5 separate regions of the Homo sapiens genome follow, and regions 1, 2, 4 and 5 are each linked to region 3. Evidence: promoter capture Hi-C in 16 types of primary human blood cells and fetal thymus (Javierre and others, 2016). All regions are on one chromosome and are shown on one strand. The core of a region is centred on a gene start or on the middle of the fragment in contact, and the rest is flanking DNA. Distances in the headings are between cores, read along the strand shown. Region 1 holds the start of LINC01018 (long intergenic non-protein coding RNA 1018). Region 2 holds the start of LOC124900934 (a long non-coding RNA gene). Region 3 holds the start of ICE1 (interactor of little elongation complex ELL subunit 1). Region 4 overlaps TENT4A (terminal nucleotidyltransferase 4A). Region 5 overlaps LOC107986401 (a long non-coding RNA gene).

Region 1 (2,700 bases), core at 107-2,606, 1.2 Mb before region 3:
GGCTGTAGACGCAGAAGGCGGGGCGGTGTCCACACTCGCGCACCGCAGCCCGGTGGCTCTCAGGCCCCCACCAGGCGCGACCCTTCCCTCTCCTCTGCCACCTGGAAGGGACGGAGCACCTGACGCGCGCATCGGGGGCAAACGCCGCAAGTTTCTGTGACGTGAGGTCTTTGCAGGTTGCCGGGGCCTTCCTCCCACAGGGACACGCGGCCTGCGCCCTCCTAGGCGTGCAGGTGCGGCTGGGAACTGGCGCCCTTCAAAGCCCCAGTGTCCCGGAGCCGACAGCGCGCGGGTGGAGGAGCTGCAGAAAGGGGCCCACGCCGCAAAGGCGCTGTTGTCGAGGTCCCCCATGGGGTTCCAGGGCTGGTGCTGGCGAGCCCCGGCCGCGCCGCCCCATCTTTACCGCGCACCCCGGCCGCTCCGCCCCCTCTACCGCGCACCCCGGCCGCGCCGCCCCCTCTACCGCGCACTCCGGCCCGCCCAGCCCCCGCGGCCCCGCGTTCCCCGCCTCCCGCGGCTCCTCAGCCCAGCGGCCAGCAGGGGATGCTGCCGGGCTCCGAGGCCCGGGTCCTGCGCGGCGCCGCGGGGAGACACGCGAGTCCCGGGCCGGCGCCGCCCTAGGCCGGGAGGGTGTGCAGCGTGACTGCGGCGAGCCCCGACGCCCGAGAAGCGGGGACCTGCTCTCGGGGGGATTCTTTGGAGACAGCCTGGGCGCTGGGGAATCCGGCGGGTGGGGAGGACCCAGCTCGGCCCTTGAGGCGCTCAGGCCTAGTCCAGGCCATACAGGTGTGCAGGACAGGGACCAGCCACAGGCCGCACGCACCTTAATATGCAGTGAATAAAAAAGACCAGACGGACCTGGGGTTGATGACGCCATCTGAACAAAGCGTCCCCGCCCCACATACCGTTCGCCCCTCCTGAGTCCGTCTCGTCGGTGGGAGCAGAGCCAGGGAAAATCACTAAGGACTCTCCCCTCCAAGGCGAGGACTTGCCTGACCCGCTTAGGCAGCGCCAGCCTCCCAGGTGCAGGTGGCTTCGCCCTCCCCTAGCTGGAGTTAGGGTGTGTCCATGCTCTGAGTCCTGGACTCCAGGAGGTACTCACCGTGTCAGCAGAAGGACGCATGAATCTATTTGAGGTCACGTACCAAAGAGCTGCAGCGCCTGGCTCCTTAATGCAGAGGCATTAGGAAGCGAGTTGTCTACTTGCGATGAATGATGAAGGACTCCACTTTACAGAGGAAGAGAGAAAACCTTGCCGCAAATCAGTCACCTTCGGACTCCAACCTAATTGACCAAAGTTAGGTTATTGATGAGGTTATTGATGGGCTGGACACCAGTGAGCTGAGAACGAGCAGTAGTTAATCCCCAGTGTCCACAAAGAGCCTGATGGCCACTGTCCCTCCATGTCCCCTCCCGGCCCAGGAGTCAGCCAGGCACCTGGGCACCGTTCACTGGGTTTTCCTGCAGGGCTGTGTGGGGGTGAGCACAGGGTGGCCCCTCTCCTTCCCGAACCCTTAATTTCTTATTGTTATATGTGTCCTTCTCACAGGGGAAGCTGAACCCAGGATGAGCTTATTCAAAAATATGTTTTTCTATTCCCCTCAAAAGGAATTGGCAGTAAACGTGTTTCTCTTTTTTACTCTCTGGAATTTTATCTGTATCTTGAAATTCCTGCCAAAACCCACAATCTAAGGCGATGCATTATTTAAAAATCAACTGAATTTCAACTAGAAATGGAATGTGAACATTATAAAGCAGAAGCTACTCTTCAGCTCTTTTCCTGGTTCCCCAGAGAAACCAGGCAAGGAGATGATGTGGGGGTTGGTCAGAATCTGGGGGAGACAAAGGGTGGGCTTCCTGGGGCCTGTGCTTCTTGGGGCCAGTTAGCTGGGTGACCTCAGGAGACACCCGACGGTGTCTCAATTCTCTCACTGCTGAAAGAGGCGGGTGGGACCTATGGATTGTCCGTATCCCTTCCAGCTTGGATCTGTCATTCCACGGCTAGGTGCTGAGAGCCTACAGGTCCCACTTGGCAGCCTTCCGAGTTACCTGCTTGGGGAAGGTTTCATGATGCATGGTTTGCATCCTGTCCCCTGAGTAAAGGGTCTTCTCGTGAATCCCTCAGATCTTCTCGTACCCTTCTCCAACTGTCAACATACAGATCAATGTGAAAAAAGACACTGATTTATTTCTGTTTTACTTATTTATTTTTTGGAAATGGGGCTTTGAGCTGTGGCCCAGGTTGGAATGCAGTGGCACCATCATAGCTCACTGTAACCTCAAACTTCTGGCCTCAAGGGATCCCCCACCTCAGCCTCGAAAAACTCTGGGATTACAAGCATGAACCAGTGCACCAGGCCCTGATTTGTCTCTGAATCATGAAGTTTTGCCAGTTGTCTTGCAGATAGAATGCTTTAGCATGTGTTTGTGTTGTAATCTGAAGCTAATGATTGTAACCTCTTTGGGACACCCTGGTACCCTCCAATGGAAAGGACAACTCCAATGTAAGGAGTGCCCTCCCCTCCCTGCTCCTAAACTTTCTCATAGAACTATTCTGACCCTGGAACAATCCTCACATTTGGCTTCCAGTAAACCTTTCTCAAATTATTTCTGCCTCAATAGCCTTAATTTTGGCTGACAGTATTTAGCAGTTTAACTGCAATAGAGTTAAATTTTATACATTGTGTGTGTGAGAGGGGG
Region 2 (2,700 bases), core at 79-2,578, 1.3 Mb before region 3:
CATCTGAACTGTCAGCTTCTAGCTTCTCTCCTATCCCACCCCAACACATGGCACAGGTGGAAACCCAAGAACCCGTGGGGTTCACCTGGCCCTGGGGGTTCACCTGGCCCTGGAGTCATGCTCTGAACACAGTGGAGCAGGCACCGGCTGTGCATCCCACACTGTCTGCTCTGCGGGAAGAAGCACATCTGCTTCCCCAGGACCACCTGCAACAGCCTCTGCACAGTGTCTATGTCTCTGCCTGCCCCAGAGGGTCTTTTTGAGATGGAGTCTTGCTCTGTCGCCCAGGCTGGAGTGCAGTGGCACAATCTCGGCTCACTGCAACCTCCGCCTCCCCGGTTCAAGTGATTCTCCTGCCTCAGCCTCCTGAGTAGCTGGTATTACAAGCGCGAGCCACCACGCCCGGCTAATTATTGTATTTTTAGTAGAGACGGCATTTCACCATGTTGGCCAGGCTGGCCTCAAACCAGGAGGGTCTTAAACCCTTTCTATGAATTACTCTCCATTGAAATTAGTAATTTTTTGTGTATGTCGTGATATTTTCCAGTTCCAAGTCTTCTGAAAAGGGTAGGACGCTAACTTGTAAAGGTTACTGTGATGGTAAATTTTAGGTGTCAACTTGGCTAGGACACAGTGCCTCTTTGTTTGGTCAAACACTAATGTAGGTGTTGCTGTGAAGGTATTCTGTAGATGTCAGTAAAGGAGATTACCCCGGATAATGTGGTGGGCCTCATCCAATCAGTTGAAGGTCACAGGAGCAAAAACTGAAGTTTCCCAGAGAAGAAATTCTGCCTCAGGATGGCAGCACCATCTCCCGCCTGGGTTTCTAGCCTGCTGGCCTGTAGATTCCAGACTTGCCAGCCCCCACAGCTCAGTGAGGTAATGCTTAAAATAAATATATTTATCTATCCATCTATCCATTCTATCGGTTCTATCTCTCTGGAAAACTCTGACTGATACATGTACATATTTAAAATATAATACAGGTATCAAAACACCTGCATTAGGAATAGATGAACACACCCATATAAAGTATAAGCTTTTTGATAGAGGTATCTGGTTGACTTTCTGTATCAATCAATTGAATGAAGTCAATTGGGAAATTTCTGTCATTTTTGTTTTTCTTATGTCTCAAGAATCTGAGATGAAATCAAATCACTAATGTGTAATTAATGTTACTTAGCTACATGTTATGATTTGATTATTTATAGAAACTTATTGATATACAACAGTATTAATATATCACATTTAACTTTACATTGTCTATGCATATGAAACATCTGATTACTACTTGTTTTACAGAATAGTGTCATTTTGCAGGGAAAATTAATATCCTGCTGTTGTTATTGTAGAGGGGATCTAATACCTGGGGATAAATCTCCTCTGTGAGAGTGAATCGAGGCAGAATCAAGAGAAGCAAGTGAGACCCGCTGTGAGTGGGTACCTCACATCCCACACATCTACCTCCACCTATGAGGAGCCACAGGACCTGCCTGCCTGCCTGGCCGCTCTCCGCAAGCGCACAGAGCCTTTCTGTGCTTAGGCCACACGTGCCCAGCATATGGTGCAAATAACCATTTATCGAGTGCACTGAACTGAGGCCTCAAGGCAAGCTTACCGCTGTGCAGGGTTAATGACAAACCCAAGGTGGGCAGCCTGGAGCTAGCCACAGTCCAAGCCAAAAGCTCCAGTGACATCTGCTCTGTGTCCAAAAGGTAGAAGGAAAGGAAAGAACACAGTGTACCAACTTATCTCAAATAAAATAATTACTTATTACCAACATCAAGTATGAAATGTGAAGCTATTCTGTGCCAGTTACAGAAAAGCTATATTACTATGTACATTACAGAATAAATTACTAAGTTTTGACTAGAGTATAAAATTTATTTGTCTTAATTTCTAGTAAGTTTTATTTGTTGAAATATAGACTCATAACATTCAAGACAGTGCTGGGTGTCGACTTCTGAACACAGCACACACTGGATAGTGTATGACACGCTGTGCAACACAACAGGGCAAAAAATTGGAAACCTGCTTTTCTGCAGTAACTTTTCATTTGCCCTAGACAAGGAACATTGCACGGCTTATTTTGACAATGATGCTCTTGTATTCATTGAATAAGTCATCTAATCTGTAAGAATCTACGTTTTATTCCCATGTGACTTAATAAAGCATTTTCATTATGAATAAAAATGTGAACTGCATAAACATTTGTATTTTATTTGAATTGGTTCTTAAGGGGGGGATAGGGTGTTGTTTTTCACTGCTTTATACAAATGTAAGGCATAGAATCATTCTCTTAAAAAATTAAAACAAAACATTTCATTAATTATTTACTTACTTGCCTAAAAATGTCTTTATGACCAACAAATGGAACAGCTTTTGCACTTCAAAGTAAAATCTTCACTTTCACAAATCACCAGCAGCGCAGCAGAGCCAGCCATGGGAGGCAGACGAGGCACGAGACTTCCCAGAGCCTGTCGATCCCCGTCACTTCTGTCTGTCCTGGAGTCTGAGCCCTAGCGTCACCCCTCTAGCCCCGACCCTCTAGCCCAATTCCTCTAGTCCCGCCCTTCTATCTCCACCTCTCTAGCCCCGCCCCTCTAGCCCCGCCCCTCTGGCCCCACCGCTCTAGCTCCACCTCTGTAGTCCCACTGCTCTAACCCCACACTTCTAGCCTCACTTGTCTAACCCCACCCC
Region 3 (2,700 bases), core at 201-2,700:
TTCTGCTCATCAAAGACACCCTGCTCCTTCTCACCAAAGGAACCTTTCCACCTGTTAATCCCTCTATCCAGGAAGCTCTTCCCACATCTCTTCTGACAGCCCGATCCTTCCCATTATTCAAATATCTGAAAGTTACTGACTCAAAAATTCCCTACCTGACTACTCTAGCTAAGAGACAAGACCAATATTCCAACATCCTCCTTTATTTTCTAACACCTAAAATCTTCTGAGGCCTTATTCACACATATGCATCTTACTTATGAGAGATCCTATTTTGTTCACCACAATGTCTGTAGTTCCTAGAACACTAGGCAGAGTAGGTAATGAGGTGCTGGTGAGTTCCGTTTTATCACTGAAACCGCGATAGTAGGAAGTTAAAAGAGACCCCCGACATCAGGCAGCTAGGAGAGTCGTGGGAAATGAGGGGCACTATTGCCCAAGTACCACCCCATAAGATCTGGAGCCATACTCTAGCAATTCTCCCTTATGTCACTCTAAAGAAGAGCCCACGCCGCTGTTAGAAACCTCCAGTCTCTGCATGCCTTTCATAAACTACTTTTATCAAACAACTGACAAGCTACTTGACCAATTACTTGGCTTGCTTTTTAAAAAATTAGCCTCGGGATGGCACATCTGCTATAAGCTGAAACGCCTCCCTAGACTCTTCGAGTCTAAGACTCAGACAACCCACATGTCACGTAAGATTCTGCCTCCAAACAACAAATACTCAGGATGGGCCAGAAGACCAAAGCGTTATCCTCAGGGAGATAACTGCCCTCGGCGTTTCACCTGTCCCTCACTGACCTACGGAGTCTGCCCTAGGGAGCTCCGAGGCCGGGTAGGGAAGGTGGGGGGCCCTCCAAACCTCGCTTACTCCACCCCCACCGTTACACCAGCGCATTCCAGTCAATGAACTCTGGGTTTCAAGCTTAAATAAAGCAAAGAAAGCCGTCCCCAAAACTCATGTAGGAAAAAGAGAGCAGAGAGACGAGCGAGCAAGAGCTACGGTTGGGAAGGGAGAGCAGCGCACTGAGGCACAGCCCGCGCGGCCGGACCCCACATCCCTGCGCTCCCGGCCGGCCGAGCCGAGTCCCCCCCCGCGCCCGGGGCCCCGGGAGGTGCTGCACCTGCTGCAGAGAGGCGCAGCCCTGACATCGCGACAGGTCCGCCGCCGTCCCGGGCGCCGCCGAATGGGTCTCGCCCGGCATCATGGTGCCGCCGCCGGGCCCGGTGGGCACGCACGCCTCAGGGGCCCGCGGCGTCGGCCCCGTCCTGTCTCTGCTGATGCCGCCGGGGCCGCCGCCTGCCAGGCCGCTTCCCGCCAGGTCCGGGCGGGTCCATCCGTGCACAGAGGTCCCCGTGGGGCTAGCAAAAGGCTCTCCGAGCCAGAGCTGCCTCAGGCACTAAAAAGAAACGCTACCCGGCGCGGCCCCCGAGCGCGACGCAGTCCAGTCAGGGCCCCGCCCCGCCCTGGCTCGCCCCGCCCCGCCCTGGCTCGCCCCGCCCCTCCCCTGGGCGCGGGGCTGCCTAAGGCGCTGCCTGAGCAACACCGGGAGAGGAGCTGTGCTATGCGGCGGGGGAGACGCCCACAGAGGAGCAGCCAATAGGAGTAGAAGGATCGAAGGTGCATTCCTACCACTGTTAAGGGTCGATCCTTTATTGCCACCTTGCTGTACGACAGGCTTTCCATAGACACCTAAAGGCCTCCGCTATGTGGGCGGTGACCCGCCCGTGACGTAAGCTCCAGACGCCTGAGAAGTGGAAGGACCCGGCGTCCAGGACAGGAAAGTGCGTGATTTACAGCTAGAGGGATAGGCGCTGTCCCGGAGCCCGTCCTGGGCCAGGGAGCAGGAGAGGGAGGGACTACAGTTCCCGACGCGCTGCGGGGCGGGCGGAGATCGTGCGCTTCGGCGCCAGTTGCACGGCCTTAGCAGCCAGTGGCGGCTCCCCTGCTCCTGTAACAGTCCCCTTGTCTTCTGACCTTTCGCTCCTCGGTCATGTGTCCTCGCCGGTCGCCGCGGCAGCCAGTGATGCCCGAGCGGCGGGTTCCCAGGCCCAGGTGTGGGCGCCACCGCCCACCATGCGCCAAGCCCAGAGCCTGGTTGAATCGTTCGCCACCTTGTCTACCCATTTTGGCCATTATCCTGCCACCTCCAAATCCTGTTTTTGACACTTCTCGGGAGAGAGAGAAAACGGAAAGATAAAGGAATAAACTCCTCGTGGTCGTAGTTAGTGGGTAAATTCAGATCTCGTTTGAACCGAGGTTTTTCTTATCTCCAGCCACCGTATCCACCACCACCAGAATCGTCTTTTTAGTCATCACAGCTGGTCGCCGTCAGTACCTTGTTCAGAAGCCTCTCGCAGCTTCCATCGTGTGGTTATACAATCCAAATTCCTTATAAAGTCCAAATTCAAGAGGAGGAATGCACGTTTAGTTAAGTTAATGTCTAGACCTTACCAGCCAATTTCTAGCTCCTCAGTATGGAAATTGCAACTGAAAACACCCCTTCCAAAAAAAGCAGTCTGCATTTTTCTCTGAGTTTTCTTCTCCAAATTTCGCACCCCTGACCTTGCTTACACACTCTGGATACCACCTGCTGTGGAGTGGCGGAAGCAGACATCCAGCGATAGCTAAGTTTCCTGTCGTTGACACCCAAGCAAGACAGGCGTGTACCTAACTGAGGACCTGCCGGTGATAGA
Region 4 (2,700 bases), core at 182-2,681, 1.3 Mb before region 3:
GTGCTCATGGCCCACCTCACGGAGGCGGCTGCCATTCACAGACGGAGTGACAGCCCACAAAAAGCCACCTCTCCAGGTGGCAGAAACATGAGGAAGCCAAAGACTACCATTGTGCAGACCAGCAGCACCGACCCACTGTGATCGCTGATCTGACAATCAGGAGGCCTCACAGTGCCCCAACAGGGCAGGTAGAAGGGCAGCTCACCCCAAGTGCATCACAACTCAGTCAACGCTAATGGAACCTACAGGAAGTAAATCCTTTAGAATGGAATGTGAATTCTCACGTGTGGAAAACTGGGACAGCAAATCAAAGGAATCTGTCACAGCAGTCACCAAGGAAGCCAGTCAGGAGAAGCTTAATTTTCATAAGAAAAGCACTGTTTCTAATTTTAATCTACAAACAACTCATTCTTCACAATCAGGTTAAGTGTGGATTTCTTTTAAAGGATATATGTTCTAAGTACTGGAGTTTTATCTTTTCTAGATTTATATTATAACTCAACGATTATGTGGGTCTTTGTTTTTTGAGTACATTTCAGCAGACACTTGAAGACAATGCCAATGTCTCCAATGTGACTCATCCAACGGACAAAAATGGATGATACACTGCCATACCGTGCTACCAAGAAAACCACTCAAGAGCCTGCACAAATCATGCCATCTATAAACAACAACAAAACACATCAGCCAATGTGTTTTCCTTGAGACGATCTTTAGGAAATAAATAAAGCTCACATCCCAGAAGCCATAAAACAAAAACAACCATTAAATCTGAGGTGTTTTTTTAAATGTATAGGAGCTGAATAAAAAAATACAAATGCAAAAAACAAATTGGAAAAAGTATGACATGTGTGACAAGAAAGGCTTCCCCGACACACACAGGCCTTGCACACAGCAGAGGAGGGCAGCCAGCAACCGGGCGGACAGCACACAGAGCCACACAGAGGAGAAGGCCCAGGGACACGCGCCTGGAGCTGGGCTCTCCACCACCTGTTCTGTCACCCGTCCGCCAACGATTTTATCACCAACAGTAAGAATGGTATCTCACCTAACAGACGCTCAATCAAAATTTGTGGAATTCATAAATAGCAATGTGTTTAACCCCACTAATCATTAAAGAAATATAAATTTAAAAGCGTTAACACATGGTTTTATCAGATTGGCAAAGATTTTAAAAGACTGTCACCAAAGGAATGAGGACATAAATACCCCTGAATACGCCAATGGGAATAAAACCGGGAAACCTCTAGCCCAGCCTTAGACTCTTCAATGCGGCAATCCTCACGACAAAACACAACCTACACACATAGGAAAGGGTCAAGGGTAAGCGTTAAGTCAAAAGCCAAGTGACAAACGTGTTTGCGTTGTGGGATGTGTTCAACAAGATAACAATAATAAACATTAATATCCATATAGGGAAAAAGTGGAGAAATACATGTCCAAATAAAAGGGGATTATGGCATCCATGGTTTTTCTATATTACATACTTCAGAGAAACAAATGGTTTAGGGTGGATATGTTATACTTCAATAATCAGAAAAAGAAAAGATTTTCCTTAATTCTTCTTTATTATAGAATGTAAACAGTTAGAAAGACAAAAGTTAATTAGAAGCATTAAATAAGGATTTCTCAAAGTGTGATTATTAACTGGTTAGTATAAGAGAAACCTGCATCAAGAGCAAATGAACTGCCCGGGGCTCTCAGAGCCCCAACACAGGCCCTGTCACCAGCACGTCCCCGAGGCTGGCCCAGCTCTCAGCAGTGGAGATCAGGGCGCCCTTACCTGGCAGCAGGGGGTCCTCAATGCACAGCATCGACGGTCTGTACCCGCTGGTCATGGCTTTCATGATCTCCTCTTTGGCGATATAGGCACCTCCTTCTTTGATTCTAATACCGGTTTTCAAGTAATTAAAATTTCTCCCATAGAGTTCAAAAAATTCTACAAGAAGCATTCCAAGGTTTTCATCAGCTCTCCGGGCATCAATTCTTGGATGCAACTGTAAAAGCAATGCACCCACAATTTGTATGGATTCATGGCATGTTCTAAAGAAAATAGCACGCGACGAAGTCTGCTGTCCAGCAGCCTCTTCAAGGCAATACCAGTGAGTGGCACTCGCTCACTCACCAGCACCACGAGGAAGCCTGAACAGCAGCCTCTTCAACGAGGAGTGTTCAAAAGGAACACAACGGACTCATCTGAATTTTAGTGTAGTTTGATTTTTGAAATTGGTAATCCATACAGCAAACTTCCTGCAAACACAGATATCTGATTAACCAAATATGGGCAAATAAGTTGGACTATATTCTGCATAACTTAGTCACCTGGATGGTAGATGTAATTTCAGATTCTCGTCATCCTAATTTCGTTATGCTGAAGCACAACCAACAGGGGTCAGTGTTAGACTGACTAGTATGGCAGTATCACATAAAACCGGAAAAGTGAAAGGATTGATTTTAGCTGTGTAAAGGTCATTAGCATTATATCACAATATTTATAGCAAGCTTCCATCCTGCTTGTCACACAGATGAGCACCACTCTCAGTTCAGTGCCATATCGTCTTCAAAAGCAGGCACTGGGCTTGTTCGGAAGTAAACCACTGTCCACCACACCTCCTGAGGGTCATAATTCTCAGCTGTCCAGACCTGCATTGCCCACATGTCTATTTAAATGAATTAAAACAAATTAATTAAAAATCCAGC
Region 5 (2,700 bases), core at 162-2,661, 1.3 Mb before region 3:
ATGCCAGGCCTGGCATGCGGGAGGGAGCCCTCAGCCAGACTCCACGTGGAGGGGGTGAGGGGTACGGCGTGCCCACCACGAACCCTGGGCCACCGTGCAGCGTTCCCTGCTGTGCAGGAGTGGATGGAGGCCTGGCTTACCTGAGAGGAGAGACAGACTCATCAGTAAGCACCCCATGCAGGAACTTAAGAACTGAAATGAAACAACACTGGCAATCATCTGTCTCATTGTGGCTCCAAGTCGCCTTGCTCCTGTGCTGATGAGCTAGCAGGCACTTTTAAAAAACCAAAGAGGGGCTGGGTATGGTGGCACACGGCACTTTGGGAGGCTGAGGAGGGAGGATCGCTTGAGCCCAAGAGTTCGAGACTACCCTGGACAACATGGCAAAACCCCGTCTCTACAAAAAACAATAATAATAATTAACTGGGCATGGTGGAACATGCCAGTAGTCCCAGCTACTCTGGAGGCTGAGATGAGAAGATTGCTTGAGCCTACGAGTATGAGGCTGCCATGAGCTGTGATCACACCACTGCACTCCAGAGCAAGAAGACCTTGTCTTAAAAAAAAAAAAAAAAAAAAAAAATCCAAGAAAATCATCCAGGATGGCAACACTTGAGTGACTTATGTTACAATTAAATGAAGGACCTTAGCATTGTATTAAGTTATATTAGACAGTGCTTGACTTAATGATTTTTCAATTTTATGATGGTGTGGAAGCCGTATGTGTTTAGGAGAAACCATACTTAGAGTACCCATACAACCATTCTGTTTTTATTTCAGTAAAGCATACAATACATTATGTGAGATTGTGTACCCATTAATCAACCTCTCTTCATCCCCCTACTCCCAATCCTTCCCAGCCCCTGGTAACACCAGTCCATTCTCTATCTTCAGAAGATCCACTTCAGCTCCCACATCCGAGAACATGCAGTATTTACCTTTCTGTTTGGCTTGTTTCACTTAACATAATGGCCTCCAGTTCTATCTGTGTTTCAAATGGCTGAAGAGTGTTCCACTGTGTATTTACACCACATTTTCTTTATCCATTCATCCACTGATGGGCACTTAGATTGATTCCACATCTTGGCTCTTGTCAATAGTGCTGCAAAAAACATGGAGTGCAGATGTCTCTTCAATAATTTTTTCTTTTGGATATATGCCCAATAGTGAGATTTCTGGATCACATGGTAGTTCTAGATCAGTAGGGACACTAAAGTTTATAACAATCTATTGTATGTTTCAAAATAGATAGAATAATTCCAATGTTTTTAGCATAAAGAAATATTTAAGGTGATAGATCTCCTGATTACTCTGATTTGACCTATACAAATTATATGAACATATTAAACTATCACATGTACTAAAATATGTACATATATTACATCAATTTTAATATTAATAAAATCAGCTTGTGTTAGATGATTTTGCCCAACTGGATGCAAATATAAGTGCTCTACGCATATGTAACATAGACATTCGGTAGGTTAGGTGTATTAAAAGCATTTTTGACTTACAGTGGGTTTATCGAGACCTAACCATATCATATAAGTCAAAGAGCATCTGTAGGTACCTAGATTTCAATTTTCCTTAATAAAGGAAACTTGAGTCTTAACTCTCTTTCCTGCTGCCTTTTTCAAGGTAAAATACTGTCCTTACCCACTAAAGCTCTGCTATTTGCTTGCTACTGACTTTCTTTAGCATGGAATCACAGAAGCACAGAGAAGCATAACTGCCTGTCCACAAGCCAGTGAAACTGCATCAAGCAATTTCTACATGCCTGGCAGTGTTGAGCCCACGAGGAACAGACACCCATGGTCACAATTTATTGAGTAAAGAAGATAAATTTGAAAAGTTAAATATTGACCCAAGAGAAATATGTTCTTATAATGAATACGTAATTAACTGACAGATATAGGACCCAACACTAGAGAAGAGGCAGAGGAGAGGAGTCATCGAGGCTCTCAGGGATGCAGAGCCGTACTGCACGTGGAAGGGGTGGCTACCGGAGCGAGTGGACAGAGGTGGAGGAGGAGGGAGTTACCTGAAAGACAGCTGGTCCCCATTCACAGAGGACACTGGGGACAACAGGCAGGGGGCTGTCCTGTCCCTGGGGACATACAAGGGGAGACAGAAGGGTCAGCGCCTCCCTACATGTAGGCACGACCCCTTCTGTGCCAGACCAGCCTTGGGTCTTTGACCACTTTGAACAAGCTAGAAACACAGGACACGTACAGAGGGGGAGACTAGACGAGAAATGTTCCAACCGCTCTTTGTTCTGCACCCAAAACAGTGTTAAGCAGCATTGAGACCTTGTCCACGTGGTGTCAACTCTGGCTGGAGGATGCCTCCTTATCAAAGGGCCACCCACTGTGGATCCCGTCCTGCCATTGCCTTTGAAAAGGAGTTCTGGGGCCCCCATCAAAAGGAGCCATGCTCTGCCCAGTTCTGAAGACCCGTTCCGGGCAGGATCGTGGCTGTCCCTCTCCGTGCTTTGGTGCATGTCTCACGTAACAGGTCCTGCCCATGAGTGGTGGTAAAAAAAAAAAAAAAATTTAGTGACTGGGCCACCAGCATTTTAAAAAATTAAATAGAACACAAAAGACGAGAGCGACTGTAGCAAGGGAGGTCATGACATGATAAACAGTTACATTTTCATGGTGGCAAAGTAAGATGAGTTCCTCTGGCAAGGCAGCCCTGGCC

What was found. The method cuts DNA at HindIII sites, captures the fragments that hold promoters and counts their contacts. A CHiCAGO score of 5 or more calls a contact.
Region 1: a contact is called between a fragment that was not itself captured here and the fragment with the promoter of ICE1 in region 3, in 1 of 17 cell types (endothelial precursors). The highest score is 5.5, in endothelial precursors.
Region 2: a contact is called between a fragment that was not itself captured here and the fragment with the promoter of ICE1 in region 3, in 5 of 17 cell types (total B cells, naive CD4 T cells, total CD8 T cells and 2 more). The highest score is 8.6, in total B cells.
Region 4: a contact is called between a fragment that was not itself captured here and the fragment with the promoter of ICE1 in region 3, in 11 of 17 cell types (total B cells, naive CD4 T cells, naive CD8 T cells and 8 more). The highest score is 31.0, in total B cells.
Region 5: a contact is called between a fragment that was not itself captured here and the fragment with the promoter of ICE1 in region 3, in 5 of 17 cell types (monocytes, non-activated CD4 T cells, activated CD4 T cells and 2 more). The highest score is 6.3, in monocytes.

What each region holds. Positions count from the first base shown.
Region 1 is chr5:6,581,004-6,583,703 of GRCh38, reverse strand. It overlaps LINC01018 (long intergenic non-protein coding RNA 1018), which reads right to left and starts at 1,568. Exons shown (of 5, transcript NR_024423.2): 1 at 1,438-1,568; 2 at 1,103-1,284; 3 at 1-101. RefSeq lists silencers at 228-389, 437-486. The HindIII fragment of the contact is 6,908 bases long and covers 1-2,700 here.
Region 2 is chr5:6,682,320-6,685,019 of GRCh38, reverse strand. LOC124900934 (a long non-coding RNA gene) reads left to right here and starts at 567. Exons shown (of 2, transcript XR_007058680.1): 1 at 567-879; 2 at 1,353-2,204. The HindIII fragment of the contact is 574 bases long and covers 1,042-1,615 here.
Region 3 is chr5:5,421,427-5,424,126 of GRCh38, reverse strand. It overlaps ICE1 (interactor of little elongation complex ELL subunit 1), which reads right to left and starts at 1,450. Exons shown (of 19, transcript NM_015325.3): 1 at 1,128-1,450. The coding sequence starts at 1,211. LOC101929200 (a long non-coding RNA gene) reads left to right here and starts at 1,998. Exons shown (of 6, transcript XR_001742583.3): 1 at 1,998-2,700. RefSeq lists silencers at 1,018-1,157, 1,218-1,547 and enhancers at 1,578-1,827, 1,693-2,203, 2,204-2,700. The HindIII fragment of the contact is 2,607 bases long and covers 931-2,700 here.
Region 4 is chr5:6,745,511-6,748,210 of GRCh38, reverse strand. TENT4A (terminal nucleotidyltransferase 4A) reads right to left here. Exons shown (of 13, transcript NM_006999.6): 7 at 1,784-1,997. Among named protein-coding and RNA genes, the nearest start is that of TENT4A, 33 kb to the right of the region's middle. The HindIII fragment of the contact is 2,147 bases long and covers 358-2,504 here.
Region 5 is chr5:6,763,111-6,765,810 of GRCh38, reverse strand. LOC107986401 (a long non-coding RNA gene) reads right to left here. Exons shown (of 2, transcript XR_007058681.1): 2 at 750-2,700. Among named protein-coding and RNA genes, the nearest start is that of LINC02236, 31 kb to the left of the region's middle. RefSeq lists an enhancer at 1-95. The HindIII fragment of the contact is 7,832 bases long and covers 1-2,700 here.